Regions from separate parts of the Homo sapiens genome. Here regions 2, 3, 4, 5, 6 and 7 are each linked to region 1. The links are contacts of gene promoters, found by promoter capture Hi-C in blood cells and fetal thymus (Javierre and others, 2016). All regions are on one chromosome and are shown on one strand. Each heading gives the region's core, a stretch centred on a gene start or on the middle of the fragment in contact. The rest is flanking DNA. Distances are from core to core; before and after follow the strand shown.

Region 1 (2,747 bases), core at 90-2,589:
AGGAGCCAGAGAGAAAGTGCAGATGAAAGGACCCATCGTCAGCGTTTGCAGGTCGCGGTAACCCCAGGCCAGATTGACATGGGCTCCGCACCCGGGCCGGTGATTCTGCCTCTTAACCGCTCTTGCAGGAGAGGTGACGTTAATCTCACAAACGTTTTCCTACCCTTCTAGGAGAAATAACGATAAGCCCCAATCTTAAGGAGCAGAGAGTTAGTTCCGGGCGTTTGCCACGGCTCCCTCACTTCAATTTACACTCGCACACGCGGGTACGTGGGTGTTCGGGGTAGGGCACTGATCTGGGGAAGGTCTCCCCCCCGCGACCCAACTCATCTTTGCACATTTGCAGTCCTCCCTCGGTGCACTCCTGGCGGGGATCTGGCCAGTGCAGCGCACTGGGACCGAGGGCAGAGCCCGCGGAGTGAGGCCAGGAGAGACTTCAGGCCTCTAAGGACACAGCTGAGGCTAAGGCTGAGTTGAACGCAGCCCCTCCCGCGGCTCGTCCCCTCTCCAGTGTCTCTCCCGTAAGGTGCCGCTCCCAACAGCAATGGGTCGAGATGTAGAGGAAACACTCTGTACGTTATTTTTCCGCCCACCCTTTAGCGCCTGAGGAGACAGACAGTGTAGACTTTAGGGTACAATTGCTTCCCCTCTGTCGCGGCGGGGTGGGGAGCGTGGGAAGGGGACAGCCGCGCAAGGGGCCAGCCTGCTCCAGGTTTGAGCGAGAGAGGGAGAAGGAGGTCCACGGAGAGACAAGAATCTCCCTCCTCCCACGCCCAAAAGGAATAAGCTGCGGGGCACACCGCCCGCCTCCAGATCCCCCATTCACGTTGAGCCGGGGCGCGCTCGGGGCGGTCGCCTGCAGTATCAGTATCAGCATCAGCATCAGCATCAGCATCTGCATGAGCATCAGCTCAGCTCAGCTCAGCTCAGCATCAGCTCAGCTGTCCTGAGGCAGCCGGCGGCTGTGAAGGAGCTCCAGGCTGCCCCCATCCCCACGCCCTTCTCGGCTCAGGGCGTGCATGAACCTGCGGATGGCCGGCGGGCGAGTGGCGCCTTCGCGATCGCGGCCGCCCCTCTAGGCGGAGGCACCGGGGACCGAACCCGTGACTTCGAGCTCCACTGCGGACGAATCCCGGGACCGCGCGCCTCGCGGAAGAGCGGCCGCCGTGCAGCGCGGAGGGATACGCCTCGGCCGCACCTCCCCTCGCCGCGCCCCCGCCCCCGCCGCCCTCCCCGCCCGGCTCTGCTGCCGCCGCGGCGGCCGCTGCTGCTGCTGCTTCTGCCGCCGCTGCCGCCGCCGCTGCCTGGATATAGTGCGGCAAGAGCGGAGCTTGCAGTCACTTTGCGAGGAGGAGCGCGCGGGCTGCGGGCGGCTGGGGCACCGCGGGAGCGGCGGCGGCGGCTCTAGCAGAGGCGGCCGGGGCAGCGAAAGGTTCTCTCTCCAGGGCTGGACTTAATAACTTTGAAACTGTCCACCGGTGTCACGTCCTGAACATGAGCCTCCTCCTCTCCTTCTACCTGCTGGGGTTGCTTGTCAGTAGCGGGCAAGGTAGGAGTGTGGCGCTTTATTGCATTTACTTTCCCTCCCCCTTCCACCCGGCCAAGAGAGGCAAAGAGGGAGGCGCAGGAAGAATGAAATGAAAGAACTAAAGTTACAGTTATTGCTGTTGTTGTTATTATTATTTTCGTTCTTTCTCCTAGCTGTCCCTAAAATTGTATCTGTTGTGTGGAGACCCTTAAATAAGAGAAGGGAAAATACAGAATTGGAGAGGGGAATCGGTGAGCAGGATATCCAGGGAAACCGCTTCTTCTTCTTCTTTTTTTTTCCTCTGGGATTATGGCTTTCTCTTATTTTTATTATCAGAAATTGGATGAGTGTGTTAACAGTGAAATATCTGAGGTTGCGGAAGGAAAGGGCACGATGGTGTTTTACAGAAGCAGCAAAAACTATCAGTGTTAAACTCATTTGCAAAATATCTGCTGTGTGCAAGACGTTCGATTCTTGGAGACTCTTTTTTTTTTCCACCCCTTTCCCAAAACCCTAATTCCTGACTATGAAGTGAATGATGATGGCTTATTTCTGTTGGAAACTAAGAGAGGGGCCGTGGATATTGTGTGTAAGAAAGCAAATGGATAAAACTAGGGATGTGTTGCAGTCATTCATTTTGACCCCAACCCCTTATTAATACAGAAAGGTGGAATCATTTTATAACATTACATTGTAATTACACCTGTAGAGGATTTTTGGGGTTGTGGGAGAACTGGTGGAAGCTTTTATCTCTTAAAAAAAAAAAATGAATAGCCTGGTAGAATAACCTGAGAGGGAATTTGTGGAAGCTATCACTGTTTGTCTCTAGAGAGATAGATATGAATTTATCTGGCTGTTTAGATAGTAAACACTCACATGAAATATATTTACAATAAATGGAAGCATTTTCAACTGTCCAGACAAGTTTGGACGTTTAATTAGGGACACAAAATGCTAAAACATGCATTGGTGAAAGTCTTTAAAGGAAAAATAAAATAGCACTAATTTTGAGATATGTAATGATTGCAAAGAATGTTATGTTGTTAGTGTAGTGTGAAATTGGTTTTTTAAAATAATATAATAAATTACAAGACAAGTTAAAATATCCCCAAGATATTCAGTTCTAAGCATTTTTAGCCTCTTCTGTATTGCTCGTTTGGTCCAGCAGGGGGTGGTAGAACTCCATTTTAAGCCCAGAAGTTGGTTTCTGCTCTTCCAC
Region 2 (2,878 bases), core at 204-2,703, 2.5 Mb before region 1:
GACTCTAAGAAGTGGGAAGGCAGGGAAGTGAATGCAGACTTATGGGTGAATAGGTGTTGTGATTGGTTATGTGGAAGCTCTTTTCAGATTGCTTCAGTTTTCTCAGTGAAACAGCAAGCACAATCAGCAACTGGGACAAAGGTAGGGGTGTGATACTGGAAGCTCGAGGAGAGAGAGCGTGTCAAATACTATTGAGAATGTGGAGGCATGAACATACCAACAATATGTGATGTGACGTCTGCCAGCATTAAAGGTTTGCTTAAAGTCTATTGCTATTAATTTATAGTGACAGCAGTCAGTGTATTTTTTTATTCACCTTTACTTTGCTAGATAGATGCAGATATGAAGTAGACACAGAAGTTGCTGTATTGTTGAATTTAACCATCATTATGGTTTTGCCAAAGAGTTCTGTTTTCATGCTGCTAATAAGACATACCTGAGACTGGGTAATTTAGAAAGGGAAGAGCTTTAATTGACTCACACTTCCACATGGCTGGAGAGCCCTCACAATCATGGCGAAAGGCAATTGAGGAACAAAGTCGCGTCTTACATGGTGGCAGGTGAGAGAGCTTGTGTAGGGGAACTCCCATTTATAAAACCATCAGATCTCCTAAAATTTATTCACTACCACGAGAACAGTATGGAGGAAACTACCCCCATGATTCAATTAACTCCACCTGGCCCTGCCCTTGACACGTGGGAATTATTACAATTCAAGGTGAGTTTTGGTTGGAGACACAGCCAAACCATATCAAGTCCAGTAAAGCAAGAACAGAAAGGAATCAGGGGTACTTCAGGGATTATGATGACTGGCCATGTAATTTGAGAGGGGACATTTTGGGGACAGAAGACCACAAAAAGGAAGAATCTCTGAACCAGAGACTTTAAGGTAGTGGTCGACATTTTTGGCACCAGGGACAGGTTTCGTGGAAGACATTTTTTCTGTGAAGTGGGTAGAGGTGGGGGATGATTTGGGGATGCAATAGTTCCACCTCAGATCATTAGGCATTAGTTAAATTCTCAGAGGGATGCACAACCTAGATCCCTTGCTTGCACAGTTCACAATAGAGTTCATTCTCCTATGAGAATCTAATGCTGCCACTGCTCTGACAGGAGGCAGAGCTTAGGTGGGAATGCTCTCTTGCCTGCTGCTCACCTCCTGCTCTGCAGCCCAGTTCCTAACAGGCATGCACAAATACTGACCCATGGCCAGGGTTAGGGACTCCTACTCTAGTTGACTCAAAGGATGGCTAAGATGGAATTACAAGAGGGAGTGATTGCAAAGTTAGCTGTGTCTGTTCTTACTTCTGTGCCATAGTGAAGTGTTTCCTGGCCATTGCCATATCCTTCATAAGCTTCCACTGATGCCTAGCCCTGTAAGAAAAAAAGTGGATACACATATCCTTCTGTCCTCTGTGTGGTACACTAGGCTTTGATGTCTTACAGCACTTTTAGTGACTCCTTTCAGTTTTTACTTGCTGCTTTCCCATCTTCTTCTCCTGTGATAAATCCAGGAAAGACACGTCTAAATGATAGCCCTCTACCAAAGGCCAAGCTTTCTGTCTTTGTATACTCAGGGTACGTCGTCTTTGAAATACTCAGTATTTGACATACTCAGGGTATGTTGTCTTCCAGGAGGCCTCTTATTTCTATCTGACAATTCACCGTCAGTGTTTTGTTGAATCAGTATAAATCAATCTTACTCATCTCATGTATATGCTTGTCTATCTCTACTTTGATGAATTTCTCAAAATCAGGGCCTGTCTCTTAGTCACTGTATCTATGTACAAGACCTAGCCAATGGCTAGCATAAAATAACGTATCCTAATTAATCAAAAGATCTGTTATCACCTGAAATTCAGCTCCATATCTAATTACATACTTGATCTATCATGACTATTTCCCATTCACCACACGTTTGGAAAATATAACATTGAGCTAATTCATTACTTACCTATCCAGAGAGGCTCACTGCTCTGATGTCCTTCTCCACCACCCCGCTCCCTGCAAGTATTCACAACATTTTCTAAACCACCTATGTTTGGAACTCTGGGTCTTTCTTTCATCTCACTTCTGCATTTTTCAGATCCCTTTACCAAACCTTATAAGTAATTTATATTTCTTTCATCTGGCTTTTGCTGTTTCCAGATCCCTTTACCAAGCCCTATAAACAAATATTTTAAAATGTCTTATTCACTAATTTCTTTATTTTTATTTCTATTGCAGTCACTCTTTTTCTTAGATTCAGAGTCATTTACTCATTCTATAAATTATTTTTAAGCACCTACTAAGAGCCAGAGACCTACTAAGTGCTAGGTGCTGGAGAGAGAGTTTTAAACAAACCACGCAAAGTCTATTCTTTCATGGAGCTTGCATTCTAAATGCCTTAGCAAGAAAGTATAAAATAGTGCTTCTGTGCTATTTAAGAATTTAAAACCGAGTTTGGGATAGAAAGTGACCTGGAGTCTACTTTACATTGAGTGATGGAAGGTTCCCTGAGAAAGTGACATGAAAACTGACCTAAATTAATGACATTCACTGACACCTTTGCTGACTGTTCCACATCTCTTGTATCTCACTCTGTCCTACAGATCTTTCTGCCCTCGCACTTATTTAGTGTATTACATAAGGTAGCCATTGAAAATATGTAACTTGGTATTTTTATCATAATTGTCTCAGGTATATCAACTATGAACTTAGAGTATAAAGTCTCTGAGAGTGAGACTATCACCATCTATACCAACATGCAAAGGAAGGAGCCTCTGAAATGGGAGGTAAAATGTTAGCTTTCCTGTTTTTATACTCAGAATTTTAGTTTTATATTTGTTAATAGAAATTTTAAGATTAATTTAAAAATAGATTCACTTATTCCTAAAAC
Region 3 (2,809 bases), core at 50-2,549, 2.7 Mb before region 1:
ATCTCATAGAATATATAGCGTTAATTACAAGTTGAGCAGTTGGAAGCACTTTTTAGAATAAAAGCAGAATGAATAAGGAAGGTTTTGTTATAAGCTTCATAGGGCTGAGGTTTTCTGTCCTTACCTATTTCTGTTTTAGAATATAGAAACCTCCTCTTTTCCAAATAACAGGATCTAAGGAAATGATAAAGGACATTGTCTTGGGTGAAAACATACTCTCTTGTTTTTATATAACAAAATAAATACCTATACATTACAGATAATTTTTGGCAGATGATTTGTAATTGTGCCAAAACATAAAAGATGTTCTCCCTCTTTTGTGTGTGTAATTATATTCTTAGTAATTTCCTGACAACAAAGAATCTCTTTGGTGACAAAATACATATTAAAAAGTGTAAGCCAAAATACGAATGAAAGACAAAGAAGATTCTCCCTGAATGGTGGTGGTGCAAAGAAACGACATTTCACAAAAGTCTTGATTTCCAATAAAATATTTTCAAATGCTTAGTAGGAGAAAGGAGGAATAATGTTTTTCCAAGTAAGAAGTAATACCCGTCTGTGGGTGGTGAAAACCTTGCTATGGATATTTTTCACTCTGTTGATGATATCCTTCTCAGATTTCTGATGCAGGTTTTAAAAAATTCTCCATTTGATTTCATCTATGCCAGGGTTCGTGGGGGTCTGGGGTGGTTCTAACAAAGTCAAAGTACGCTAGGACAAACTAAGAAATGTCCTGGATTAAGTCAGATGATTCTCAATAGGGTGTTTAAACCTGGTACGGTAGAAAAAAGTTGTTTGATATGTGTGTGTGTGTGTATCTTTATTTTGTTTTTATTACCAGGTGAAATCAAACTGTCAAAGTTTGGGGATGCTTTGTATAACTTCTATGTTGTTTTCTACTGAAATGAGTATATGAAGGATCGTGCGTGTCTTGACTACTCTGTCAGAATGACCTCGGCCTTTTAAAGAACTAAGACCTCTGGGTCTCACTCCAGCCAGGGTCCTTCACCTCTTTGGAATCCATGGAAGTTCATGATAACATGTAGGAGGTTGGTAGTTGGCAAAGAAATAATTACATCTTTATTTTTACTAACTTTAATCTCTTCTTCTGATACAAATGTAGGTGATTAACCACAAAATTATTAGCAACATCTATAATATGGTCACCAAAATGAACTGCAGATATATTCATATCATATTGCAGTTGCTAGATACATATAAAATATCATTTATGTTCACCTTTGATATTACAGTGGTCATTAGAGCCACCAGTGTATCTTATTAAATATGTTAATAAAGAAATATATATTTCCATGGATTTAAAAATTTTTGATAATTATTTTTAATGTAATAAATTTCCTTTGTAGTTCTGTGTGTTTTAGTTTATATACTTAAAAATACTCTTTTTTGTGTGTAATTATATTCTTATTAATTTCCTGGCAACAAAGTCTCACTTGGGTGACAAAATACATATTAAAAAGTGTAAGCCGAAGTAGGAGCGACAGACAAAGAAGATTCTCCAAATTAAGTTTCCCCAGACTGACAAAAGTACCTATGACACATAAACAAAGGTTGAGAGCACTTACCCTAGGTGGTGGTTCTCAACTCTAGAATGCACCTGAATTACCTGAAGGACTTATTAAATCACAGACTGCTGGGCCTTACGCTAGACTTTTGGGTTCAATAGGCCAGAGGTAGGATTCCAGGATTTGAATTTCCGTACTTTTTTTTTTTTTTTTTTTTTTTGAGACGGAGTCTCCCTCTGTCGCCCAGGCTGGAGTGCAGTGGCGCGATCTCGGCTCACTGCAAGCTCCGCCTCCCGGGTTCACGCCATTCTCCTGCCTCAGCCTCCCGAGTAGCTGGGACTACAGGCGCCCGCCACCGCGCCCGGCTAATTTTTTGTATTTTTAGTAGAGACGGGGTTTCACCGGGTTAGCCAGGATGGTCTCCATCTCCTGACCTCGTGATCCGCCCTTCTCGGCCTCCCAAAGTGCTGGGATTACAGGCGTGAGCCACCACGCCCGGCCCCTTGAATTTCTATAAATTTATCCCAGGTGATTCCATGCTGGGATGGAATTTGGTCCTAAAACCACACATTGAGATCCACTGACCTAGACCATTCTGAATCTAAGAGTCTGAGGCTGAGACTAGGTGATTCTTATGTATAACCAGGCTGTACCTTCAAGAGCTGGTGTAGCTGCTGTATTACAAGTCAGTGGTACACCTATTGTCACTCCCTTGCCCAGAGCAGACATAATTATCTTATCACTGTGCCTTCCCCCACCCTGCTAGATATTAAACCTATTAAGTATTAATGTTAAAAAGTATCAAATTATGGTAGTTTGCTATTAATGATTTGCTCTTTAATTATTTTTAATTAATGCATTTCTAATTTTAAAATGGAGAAAACATCAGAGTTATAATTTGTGCTTCAAGTAAATGATGGACTTTGTAGTTAAGTCAATTAAACCAAATTAAAATAAGATTTCTTCCACAACCTTGCCCAAAGCTTTTCTCACCCACCCCACCACAGTAACATAGCTAAGAATAAAAGTACCTTCTGTGCTGAAGTTGCAAATCAAAAAATTTTAAAAATGTAAAATATTATTTATTTCTGTGTAAAGTTAGCGAATTAAGTAGAAATCATCTAAAGCCAAAGGTTACATTTTTTTTTTACTGTTCCCATATCTGTGTTGTTGTTTTGTGTCTGAGTTGTAATAAGTCAAGGTTTTCCCCACATACTTGAAAATTTTGGGACATTGGCAGAAAATATGAACAAGGGCAGAAGCACTATATGTCTACCACCTCC
Region 4 (2,700 bases), core at 141-2,640, 2.7 Mb before region 1:
GCATGTATCACTGCTAAAGTATTTATTTAAATGTTTTTCAGCCTTAACATGTCATATAAACCTTATCAGAGGAAAGATTTTGTTGGTCTGTACAGCACTATCATCTCCAAACTTAGAAAACTACTTAGCACAGGATAAGTGCTCAGCAAATGTCATCTGATTGAATGGATATATAAAAAACAGTAAGCAATCCAAGAGCAGGAAGGAATGAATATTACCAGTGGTTCCTCATAACAGCCAGGTAACGGGCAGAGTTGCGTATCAATCCACATAATTTCACTCTCTGTTCTTCCTCAGTCTTCTCCCACCCCACCCAGCTCTTTTTTCTTTTTAATGTTTAGAGTCTCAAACTCTAAATATTAAAATATTCCTTCTTTGTGTAACAAGTGGTTATGCAAAATAACTAAGAAAAAAGGTGGCTCAACAATGTGATCCAAGATGATGAATTAATTATCAAAGTAGAGGTAACTTGAGAGATACGATAGAAACTTTTAGGAAATGAAATTTCTGAGTGCACTAATAATTATAATGAGATACATGCCAAAGAGACATATGTTATTAAATAGTGGTAATAGAATGGTGTCAAGGAAATGGATTGCACGATATAGGTCAAGAGAGACTTACAGGAAACACAATTTTACAGGGAAACACAAGGTTGGAAGTTGATATAACCTCTAATAAAGACATAAATCTAAAAAGTCTTAGTGATACAGTAAGATAGTATTAACTTTTAGGAAGATGACTAGCACTCAAACTTGAAATATTTTGGAAAAGGATCCAAGACCTAAGCTCTAACCAAAGTCAATATTACTAACCTACCCTTGAAATCTCTACTGTCTATGACTATTTATCAGAGAACTAAGAATAGAGCTACCATTTGATCTAGTACTCCCACTGCTAGGAATCAATCCAAAGGAAAAGAAATCAGTGTATCAAAAAGATACCTGCATTTGTGTGTTTATAACAGCACTATTCACAATAGAAAAGATACTGAATCAACATAAGTGTTCATCAACAGACGACTGGATAAAGAAATGTGGTATATATATGCAATGAAATACTATTCAGCCAGGAGAAAGAATAAAATCATGTCTTTTGCAGCAACATGGATGGAACTGGAGGCCATTATCTTAAGTGAAACAACTCACATGCAGAAAGACAAATTTCAAATATTCCCACTTATAAGTGGGAGCCAAATAATGTATAGTGGACATAAAGTGTGGAATGATAGATCAGAGAGAGTTAGAAGGATGGCGCTGTGGGAGGCGGGTGGATATTAAGAAATTAATGTGTAGAGTGTACATTATTCAGGTGATGGATACCCTAAAAGCCCTGACTTCCTCACTATGCAATCCACCCATGTAACAAAATTACACTTGTACCCCATACATTTACACAAATAGCATTTAAAAGAGAAGTCTCTATTGTCCTAAGAAAATGCTCTTCCTTTTTTTTTTTTTTTTTTTTTTTTTGAGATGGAGTGTTGTGTTGCTCTGTCTCCCAGGCTGGAGTGCAGTGGTGCGATCTCGGCTCACCACAACCTTCGCCTCCCGGGTTCAAGCAATTCTCTTGCCTCAGCCTCCCGAGTAGCTGGGACTACAGGCGCATGCTGCCACACCTGGCTAATTTCTTTTGTATTTTAGTAGAGACGGGGTTTCACTGTGTTGTCCAGGCTGGTCTCAAACTCCCGAGCTCAGGCCCGCCTCGGCCTCCCAAAGTGCTAGGATTACAGGCATGAGCCACCACACCCGGCCGCTCTTCCTCTTTTTTATCTGCAAATATTACCATAATCTTAAAATGATATTATAGTATTTCTTCAATCTGAAGAACATTATATATTACAAGCCTAACTCCCTAGAACAATAAGACTAGGTAGATAAACAGAAAAATAAAATTAAACTAATTATATGTATATTTTAGGATAAGTTTAAGAAGAAATTAAGTATTTAAAAATTATTGAATTGATATATGTCCTGTGTTCTGCTTAAAGCATGAGACATTCAAAAAAATCCAAATTTTAAGTGGTAATTATGGTATCAATTAAGTAATGTTATTTTATTATAAATGCTTAACTGTTTAAAAAGTTGATTTTCAAAGTTTTATTAGTTATATCAGTTTACTAAATGGAGTACTAAATAAATTATAAATAGGCCGGGCACAGTGACTCACACCTGTAATCCCAGCACTTTGAGAGGCTGAGGTGGGCGGATCACCTGAGGTTGGGCTTTCAAGACCAGCCTGACCAACATGGAGAAACCCCGTCTCTACTAAAAATGCAAAAGTAGCCGGGTGTGGTGGTGCATGCCTGTAATCCCAGCTACTCGGGAGGCTGAGGCAGGAAAATCGCTTGAACCCGGGAGGCGGAGGTTGCAGTGAGCCAAGATCGTGCCATTGCACTCCAGCCTGGGCAACAAGAGTGAAACTCTGTCTCAATAAATAAATAAATGAAGTATAAATAGTAGTCTGTATTTCTTACCATGCCCCAAATACCTCATATATGAAATTATTTATTTCAGGAGTGTTAACACATATTTTAAGGAATTGTTTCAATAAGAAATCAGGTAATCCCTGTGATGTCTCTGGTCTGCTCTGAAAAGCTAAATTAAAGAATGAGATCTTGGCAAGAGGCTCCCTGTCACTAATTTCATCTTTAATAGATGTCCGTTCAATGACTGTGATCCAGACTGTAAATCTATATAT
Region 5 (2,944 bases), core at 333-2,832, 3.0 Mb after region 1:
AAGGACACCTGAACACATTACTGTTAATGACAAAACATACCTTGGCCATCTTGGAAATTCTTTCATTCAATAGGTTATGAGTCTGTCATGACATTTAAAATGATAATTTTGATGAAGACATCACATCACAATGATTAAAAAAATTCCAAGACCTAGAAAAAATTAAAAGTTTATTATATTGAAAATTAAAAATAGTTAAGGATAGATTTTATAAAGCATTATTGCACCAAAAAAAAATTCTTGGTCAAACATTATGTTGTAATTCTATAATAGACTTTTCCAGTTTGCCCAAGGCAGTTCTAATTTATACCTGATGTTTCAACACAATAGAAAATAACAGTGCCTTTGACTCTGAACGGAGTGCTATGAATTGAAGAATAGAAATTATATACTCTGTTTCAGCGTGGATACCACAAGGAATGAGGAAATACTTTCCTCTTAACCACAAACCCTCAAAAACACCAACCTTGTTCCTGTTTTGGGAACTCTGTGCTAGACATTATCTTAGTCTAGAATACTTACCAAATTGTCTCAAAACTGCCTCAGGGTTGACAGATTTTTGCTTAAATATAATTTTTCAAAGCTTTTTACTGACTATATTATTTAGGCATACATTCAACTGAAAATAACATAAAACCCAACTAGTATAGCTGAAAAAGTAAGGGATTTACTTGTTCCATGCACCAAATAGTTTAGAAAGGGTTAGTCGGGCTTGAATGGCAGCTCAATTTTCCATCAAGTACTCAAGAATTTTGTATTCTAGTGTGCTTAAATGAGTACACTTTTGTCCCTATTCTTATTGCTTCATGATCTTAAGGTAGCCGCTCCATCTGCAAAATCCATGTTTACAATAGTAAAAGGGTTTTCTCATAGTAAGACTTTCAAATTTTACTTGGGAACGAATGCCATCTTCAGAGACATTCACCTGCCTCTTCTTGACTGGAACTATATTGTATGAACACACCAAGATGAAAGAGAATGAGAGAAGCGGGTATATTTGCATGCAGTCCTGAAAAAAATTGGAATCTGTTAATATGGGAAATAGGGAAACAGATTTGTTGTAAGCAAACGGCAACATACACCACTTTGATCAACCAAACTCAAATATTCTTATCTCAGCTTCTATGGTTTGAATGTGTCCCCCAAAATTCACATGTTGGGAACTTACTACTCATTGCGGCAGTGTTGAGAGGTGGGGCTTAATAGAAGGTGATTGGGTCACGAAGGCACAGCCCTCATGAAGGCGTTCATGCAGTCACTGTGGCTCAGTTATCACAAGAGCGGGTAGTTATAAAAGTAGGCCAGGGCCGGGCGCGGTGGCTCACGCCTGTAATCCCAGCACTTTGGGAGGCCGAGGCGGGCGGATCACGAGATCAGGAGGTCGAGGCCATCCTGGCTAACGCAGGGAAACCCCGTCTCTACTAAAAAATAAAATACAAAAAATGGGCCGGGTGTGGCGGCGGGCGCCTGTAGTCCCAGCTACTCGAGAGGCTGAGGCAGGAGAATGGAGCGAACCCAGGAGGTGGAGGTTCCAGTGAGCCGAGATCGCGCCACTGCACTCCAGCCTGGGCGACAGAGCGAGACTCCCCCTAAAAATAAATAAATAAATAACTAAAAATAAAAAAAAAGTAGGCCAGGACCCTCATGTTTTTTCTCTCATACAAACTCTCTTGCTGTTGTGCGCTGCACCATGGGATGACCTCACTAGATGCCAGAAACGTGTTCTTTAACTTTCTAGGCTCCAGAGCCATGAGCCGAAATAAACTTGTATTTTTTTTTTTTTTTTTTTTTTTTCAGACTGAGTCTTGCTCTGTCGCCCAGGCTGGAGTGCAGCCGCGCGATCTCTGCTCACTGCAAGCTCCTCCTCCCGGGTTCACGCCTTTCTGCCTCAGCCTCCGGAGTAGATGGGACTGCAGGTGCCCACCACCATGGCCGGCTAATTTTGTTTTTGTATTTTTAGTAGAGACGGGGTTTCACCGTGTTAGCCAGGATGGTCTCGATCTCCTGACCTCGTGATCCGCCCGCCTCGGCCTCCCAAAGTGCTGGGATTACAGGCGTAAGCCACCGTGCCCCACCTGCTATATTCTTAATGACTTGATAAGTGTCTAGAATAAATAAATAATTATAGTTTTACATTATATTATTGTATAAATGAATGAGGAAATACATACATGATTGAACAGTCTTGTATTAATTAACATAGTAGATGAGACTATAATTTTGAAGGATATCTACTAATAAATATTCAATTATTTATAGTTTTCATAAAGTTGTAGATTCACTGTAAGTCCAAAAGTTAGCAAATTCTTTTTTAATCATGTTTAATCCTAGAATATTACAGTCATAACTAGGTTGGTGATGCTCTATCCCAGTGGTGTCCAATCTTTTGGCTTCTCTGGGCCACAATGGAAGGAGAAAACTTGTCTTGGGCTACGCATAAAATATATATAACATTGATGATAGCTGATGAGGTTAAAAAAATCACAAAAAAACATAATGTTTTAAGAAAGTTTGCAAATTTGTGGTGGGCTGCATTCAATGTGGTCCTGGGCTGCATGTGGCCCATGGGCCTTGGGTTAGACAAGCTTGCTTTATACATCTACTTTAACAATTAAAAGTAGAGAAAAATTATCATAAATTCTGCTATCCTTTGTAGAATCTCTGAATTCAACATTTACTAGAAGTCTCAAAGTTTGTGTTACACTCAGCATCACATTGAGTGTGACTGCTCAACGGTGGGTCTAATGTGCCACATCTGCATAAAAACCAGAGGTAGCACAGTCACCACCTACAGTTTCTTCTTATCTTTACTCTTTTCGGATCCTCACTAGTAATGATACTTCATATTGTAATGGCTCCACAAGCTTGGCAGCCATTTCTATGGGGCTCTACTTGGTAAATGGGACAGGATAATATATCTATGTCTTGTCCAGAACTAGGAAGA
Region 6 (2,816 bases), core at 11-2,510, 3.0 Mb after region 1:
GTGAAAATGAGAAACTTGGGAATAAAAGTAAATTTTTTGACATACTGATCTCCTGAAAGCAATTCTTTTTGACATTTTAAAGATCCTTATTTTCAGAAGCTATTCTGTTTGAAATCTGAGATTCTAAGACGTCAAAGGTATACTTTTAATAGTTTCACTTGCTATTATACTGTTACTTAATTGAAAAAATCTGTTGTTATTTAATATCTTTCACATTCTTGTTTTCTCTGTAGCTTTTAAACGTAAAACTTTTTTCCTGGATCATGCAAGTTTAAAATTCAAATATCATTACTTATATTCAAGGCATTATTAAAATGAAACATATATTTAAATATTTCATGCAAAACTGAAAACTTTGTAAAGTTTTTTCCTTAAAATGTGTTTCATCATATATATTTATCATGTTATAGTAGTTTAAAATGGATGAGGTTTGTTTCCCCAGTTTTACCTTTTATTTTTCCAAAAAAGGTTAATGTGCTATTATAAAAATAAAACAATTTTTGGCTTTGTCTGCCATGAGTAATAGGACCTGCTGAATTAAATTTTATCTTTGCCCCAGGCACATTGTGAATTTAAAGTCTTTGCAATTTCTCATTTTTCTTTTCAAGTCAGAAATGGGCTTGAAGTTTCATAAGAATTTCAAACTCAGATGAAAACTGTCACACCAGCACCTGCAGCAGCTTTATGCACCATGAAGGATTAATCTTGTGAAATAATCTTACAAGTAACTTTTACCTGTCTGATATTTAAGACCTCACTATTTAAGAAGATACACAAAAAATCTAAATGCAGTTTCCTTAACATTACTATCCATTATAGATAGAAATCCTGTAACAAGTTGAGTCATTATCTGAGAGGAATCATAGTATATCTATCTATTTAGTATATTAATTTTAGAAAAGCTTTTATTGTAAATATTTTAAGAGTTGTTTTTTGAGAATTGTAGCTAAGCCATTTAAAATAGAAATATTTAACATGTAAATGTTACCATTAGATTATCGTTCTATATAGAATGTTTTTAAGAACTGAGATTTTGAAAACCTTAGAGATATATAAGTTGATAATACAGAAGTGGGTCAATGATATGTATACAAAGTAATAAATATAGATTTAAGCAAAGAAAATGTATTGGTTAACAGGAATATCATAGCACCAGTAATTAAAAATATAGAGAGTAACAATGGATAATCATTTATCTATCTACTTATGTGTTCCTCCCTTTTCCCACAAAATTTAGAAAAATTTTACAGATTATTCTAGTAAAGATATAATAAAAATAATGCACTGCAAGAAAACAGATAGGCTTTTTAAAATAAATAAACTTGCTATTATGTCAAGTGCATAAAAGTAAGAGATATTGTAGTTTCTCTAAGAATATAATTTTGCTAAAATAAAATAAGCAGGCACAAACAAATATATGAGCAAAAACCAGAAGTTTTATTAGGAGTAGAAACATTAAATGGTCACAATAGTTAGTGAATTGTAGAAATATGAATTTTTTGCCTTGTTTTCTATCTTCTGTATGGTTTTTTAAATACTAAAAATGACAATTTTTAACATATATCGAAATATAGAAAAAGTCTGCGATACGATATTGACTAAAAACTATGGTATAATGTTAAGCTTCTAAAAATATCTAAAATAGATAAAAATATTGTAAATAACATAAAGATTATAAAGCCAAAAATAAATTAATTTTATTCTTGCTAGAAGTCACCTACCAAACAAAAAATTACCATTGATGAATATGTAACTTCCATACCTTAAGATTTTGTATCCTGAATAAAAATTTGGTGGCATAGTTACATTTTTTTTTTTAATTTACTCATTAGAATCCTCTTGTATTTGTAGTTTTTTTTTTTTGTACCAGAGCTATTTGTCCAAATAAGAACTCTTTGGTTATTATATGATTCCATTAGTTATGTGCCTTTTTTGTGAAACATGTAATAAAAACTTGTTCTTGCTACAATTTCTCCTGTTTAGTAACATTTCTTTAGAAAAAGCAAATAATTTATATGTAATTAATAAACTACTGCGTTCAATAATATTAATTTACTAATATTTGCGATGGACTCCAGCCTAAAACTGTATGTTATTTGTTTTTTCATAAAATTTGAATAGACTTATTATCAATTTAAACCCAAAGTCATTTAATGTTTTAAAAAGAAAAGCAAACTTTTTTGTGCATTTGCTATGTGCTAGGGACTTTGCAACCATTCTCTTATTTAATTCTAATTTAATAGCCCCCTGAGATGCAACTATCATTTACCCCATTTTCTTATAAACACTATCTCAGAGAAGTGCAACAATGTGCCCAAGAGAGGACAAGATGTGCTTGAAAGATGTGAAGCTCAATTTCAAATCGGTCTGAACCTGAATTAAGAGATTTAATCACTATACTCTATAATGGGTACTAACCACACCCCCTTGCCCTTTATCCTTGTTAGTTTACTGCAGTACTTTATACAAACCTTTCTTCTTGTTTCTTCTTGGTGTTTTTATGATGCAGTTAATCCGTTCCCTCATTCAATAAATACCACACTTATACAGTACCTAAAGAAAGCATTCTTTCCTTTCCTTCTCCATGTAATAGTCACCTTGAACCTGAATTTATGCAAATAACTGCATATCTAATTAAAAACCAGAATTTTTCCTTTCACCCGGCTCAAGATTAATTGATTCTGATTTGAAAGACTGCAGTATGGCAAATGTTTGTGTTATGAGAATAAACAAAGACTACCCACCGAAGAACAAACAAGTGAAGCTATTTATTTAGAGGTTACTGTAACAAGGGAGTGGGCTACCATTATCTATTA
Region 7 (2,700 bases), core at 29-2,528, 2.4 Mb after region 1:
GGAGGGAGCTAGATGATAAGAGACAAGTACTTAATGTTTTACAATCTTACAAAATATTCATTTAATGACCGTTATGTATAACACTGTCAACCTGGATATTTAGACCATTCACCCCACATACCCTGTTTATCTCTGCTAAGCATCACATCCCCTAAACTGAGCTAGTTAAGTGCTACATAATAAGTACATCTTTGCAAAAGCTGTTAAAAGGAGCATAAAACCAAAATCAAACCCCAAACTTAGTGGGAGACACAAGTACTGGAAAAGCAGAAAACATGGGTTTTATTATTTAATACACAGAGACCTATCAGCACTACATCAGAACTTTGAATTTCAAGAGGAGAGAAATCGTCTTCTTTTGTGTAATTTGTTTCTGCATGTATTAGTTTGTTCTCATGCTCTTAATAAAGACATATCCTGAAACTGAGTAATTTACAAAGGAAAAAGGTTTAATTGACTAACAGTTCCACAAAGCTGGGGAGGCCTTACAATTAAGACAGAAAGCGATTGAGGAGCAAAGTCACGTCTTACATGGTGGCAGGCAAGAGAGCTTGTGGAGGGGAACTCTCCTTTATGAAACCATCAGATTTCGTAAGGCTTATTCACTATCAGGAGAACAGCACAGGAAAGACCCATCACCATGATTCAGTTACCTCCCGTGTGGTCCCTCCATGACACGTGGGAATTACAGGAGCTACAATTCAAGATGAGATTTGGGTTGGGGACACAGCCAAACCATATCACTGCAGAGAGCCAATTTCTATTTTTTCCATGTATTCTATTTTTCTCATATGGTTGGGTTTGGAATAGTAATAAAAACAATATATATATCTAGATCATAAAACATGCTCTATGTAAAATTATTTACAGACTCATAAGACATGCAAAACTTTTAACTCACATACAAAAGACACAAATATGGTGATTCAGTGACCACTATAAATATATTTATGTAAGCATGGTTATGATAGATACGTAGACAAAATAATAAAAGGTAAATTGGAGTATACAAATCATTAACAGATGCCAGGCTCGGTGGCTCACACTTGTAATCCCAGCACTTTGGGAGGCTGAGGCGGGCAGATCATGAGGTCAGGAGACCGCGACCATACTTGCTAACATGGTAAAACCCTGTCTCTACTAAAAATACAAAAAATTAGCCAGGTGTGGTGGCATGTGCCTGTAGTCCCAGCTACTTGGGAGGCTGAGGCAGGAGAATCGCTTGAACCCAGGAGGCGGAGGTTGCAGTGAGCCAGTATCATGCCACTGCACTGCAACCTGGGTGTCAGAGTATGACTCTGTCTCAAAAAAAAAAAAAAGAAAAGAATTTATTAGACGAATATAGGAAAACCATAATTAATAAAATGTACTTCTTATTTACAAGGTTTTAGATTCATTGCCCGATAGTTTAGTATTTGTTAATCTGGTAAAATACATAATTGGGTATGGGTGAAGCAGCTATAAAAGAGACTCCCCAAACACAATATTTTAATCTAGTTTTATCTCTCACTTAACAATATGGCTGATCTGGTGGGCTTGATGGTGTCAGAAACGAAGTCTCCATCCATTTTTGAGTTTTGCCATTCCCACATTCCCACATGCTATTGCTTGGTGACATCCAGCCATGAGGTTAAAATTAAAAAAAAAAAAAAAAAAAAAAAGAAAGAGAGGGAAAACTCATATTCTTTGAAGTAAATTATTCTGCAAATATTCTGCTTATATTTCATTGGCCCAAACTTAGTCGCATCATGCCACCTTGAGGTCATCTGAAGTACTAGGCTGAGAAGAAAATAATTTGCATGACTTAATATTTGCTATTGGTTAGCTCCCACACCTGACCCAGAAATCTTCATACAAGGTGTTGCGGAAAGGATTAGAGAGCCAGCTTTGTCTCCAAGTCCTCTATAGAGCAGGGTCATTTTTACAACTAGTATTAGTTCATCTATGGTAGAACTTTGATTACAGAAGCAATAAACACAATCACACAATATTTTTTCTCGTGTTGTTGCTTTTTCCATCCAGTTCTAGTAAATTTTCAAGCTCAATTTGCACATGCTTTGTCTTTCAAAATATCCCAGGGCAGCACTTTGGGAGGCCGAGGTGGGCGGATCTCGAGGTCAGAAGATCGAGACCATCCTGGCTAACATGGTGAAACCCTGTCTCTACTAAAAACACACAAAAAAATTAGCCGGGTGTGGTAGCGGGCGCCTGTAGTCCCAGCTACTAGGGAGGCTGAGGCAGGAGAATGGCGTGAACCCGGGAGGTGGAGCTTACAGTGAGCCGAGATCGCGCCACTGCACACCTGCCTGGGCGACAGAGCGAAACTCCGTCTCAAATATATATATACACATATATATATATATATATATATATATATATACACACACATATATATATATATGTATATATATATGTGTATATATATATACATATATATATATATACATATATATATATATATATATGTATATATATCCCAAGGAACATTCTTACCATAACTTAACAAGGATCTGAGTAATATCTAAGTCCTTTTTCCTACCTAATCTTTAATCTACTAGTGGGGATGTCATTTAGATTTTGGATTGTTTATTGTTTTTTGGTTTTGTTTTTGTAGTATGTTAACACATGTTTGTACCAATATTTCTCTTGGATATAATAATTAATAGGTGACTTCAGCAAGGAACTCCAAAATCAGAGTTC

The links. The method cuts DNA at HindIII sites, captures the fragments that hold promoters and counts their contacts. A CHiCAGO score of 5 or more calls a contact.
Region 2: a fragment that was not itself captured here is called in contact with the fragment with the promoter of NCAM2 in region 1 in 1 of 17 cell types (M0 macrophages); the score reaches 5.3 in M0 macrophages.
Region 3: a fragment that was not itself captured here is called in contact with the fragment with the promoter of NCAM2 in region 1 in 2 of 17 cell types (total B cells and naive B cells); the score reaches 13.1 in total B cells.
Region 4: a fragment that was not itself captured here is called in contact with the fragment with the promoter of NCAM2 in region 1 in 2 of 17 cell types (naive B cells and M0 macrophages); the score reaches 8.9 in naive B cells.
Region 5: a contact is called between a fragment that was not itself captured here and the fragment with the promoter of NCAM2 in region 1, in 3 of 17 cell types (naive B cells, naive CD8 T cells and monocytes). The highest score is 7.2, in naive B cells.
Region 6: a fragment that was not itself captured here is called in contact with the fragment with the promoter of NCAM2 in region 1 in 6 of 17 cell types (naive B cells, total B cells, naive CD4 T cells and 3 more); the score reaches 9.3 in naive B cells.
Region 7: a fragment that was not itself captured here is called in contact with the fragment with the promoter of NCAM2 in region 1 in 1 of 17 cell types (endothelial precursors); the score reaches 5.1 in endothelial precursors.

The regions. Positions count from the first base shown.
Region 1 is chr21:20,997,070-20,999,816 of GRCh38, forward strand. NCAM2 (neural cell adhesion molecule 2) reads left to right here and starts at 1,340. Exons shown (of 18, transcript NM_004540.5): 1 at 1,340-1,549. The coding sequence starts at 1,495. The HindIII fragment of the contact is 4,236 bases long and covers 1-2,269 here.
Region 2 is chr21:18,489,029-18,491,906 of GRCh38, forward strand. No RefSeq gene overlaps it. Among named protein-coding and RNA genes, the nearest start is that of TMPRSS15, 87 kb to the left of the region's middle. The HindIII fragment of the contact is 200 bases long and covers 1,354-1,553 here.
Region 3 is chr21:18,303,461-18,306,269 of GRCh38, forward strand. The region is part of intron 18 of TMPRSS15 (transmembrane serine protease 15); the gene reads right to left. Among named protein-coding and RNA genes, the nearest start is that of CHODL, 60 kb to the left of the region's middle. The HindIII fragment of the contact is 2,415 bases long and covers 93-2,507 here.
Region 4 is chr21:18,287,082-18,289,781 of GRCh38, forward strand. All of the region lies in intron 21 of TMPRSS15 (transmembrane serine protease 15), which reads right to left. Among named protein-coding and RNA genes, the nearest start is that of CHODL, 44 kb to the left of the region's middle. The HindIII fragment of the contact is 4,039 bases long and covers 1-2,700 here.
Region 5 is chr21:23,977,734-23,980,677 of GRCh38, forward strand. No RefSeq gene overlaps it. Among named protein-coding and RNA genes, the nearest start is that of LINC01689, 340 kb to the right of the region's middle. The HindIII fragment of the contact is 2,002 bases long and covers 582-2,583 here.
Region 6 is chr21:23,957,821-23,960,636 of GRCh38, forward strand. No RefSeq gene overlaps it. Among named protein-coding and RNA genes, the nearest start is that of LINC01689, 360 kb to the right of the region's middle. The HindIII fragment of the contact is 721 bases long and covers 901-1,621 here.
Region 7 is chr21:23,399,714-23,402,413 of GRCh38, forward strand. No RefSeq gene overlaps it. Among named protein-coding and RNA genes, the nearest start is that of D21S2088E, 16 kb to the left of the region's middle. The HindIII fragment of the contact is 5,433 bases long and covers 1-2,700 here.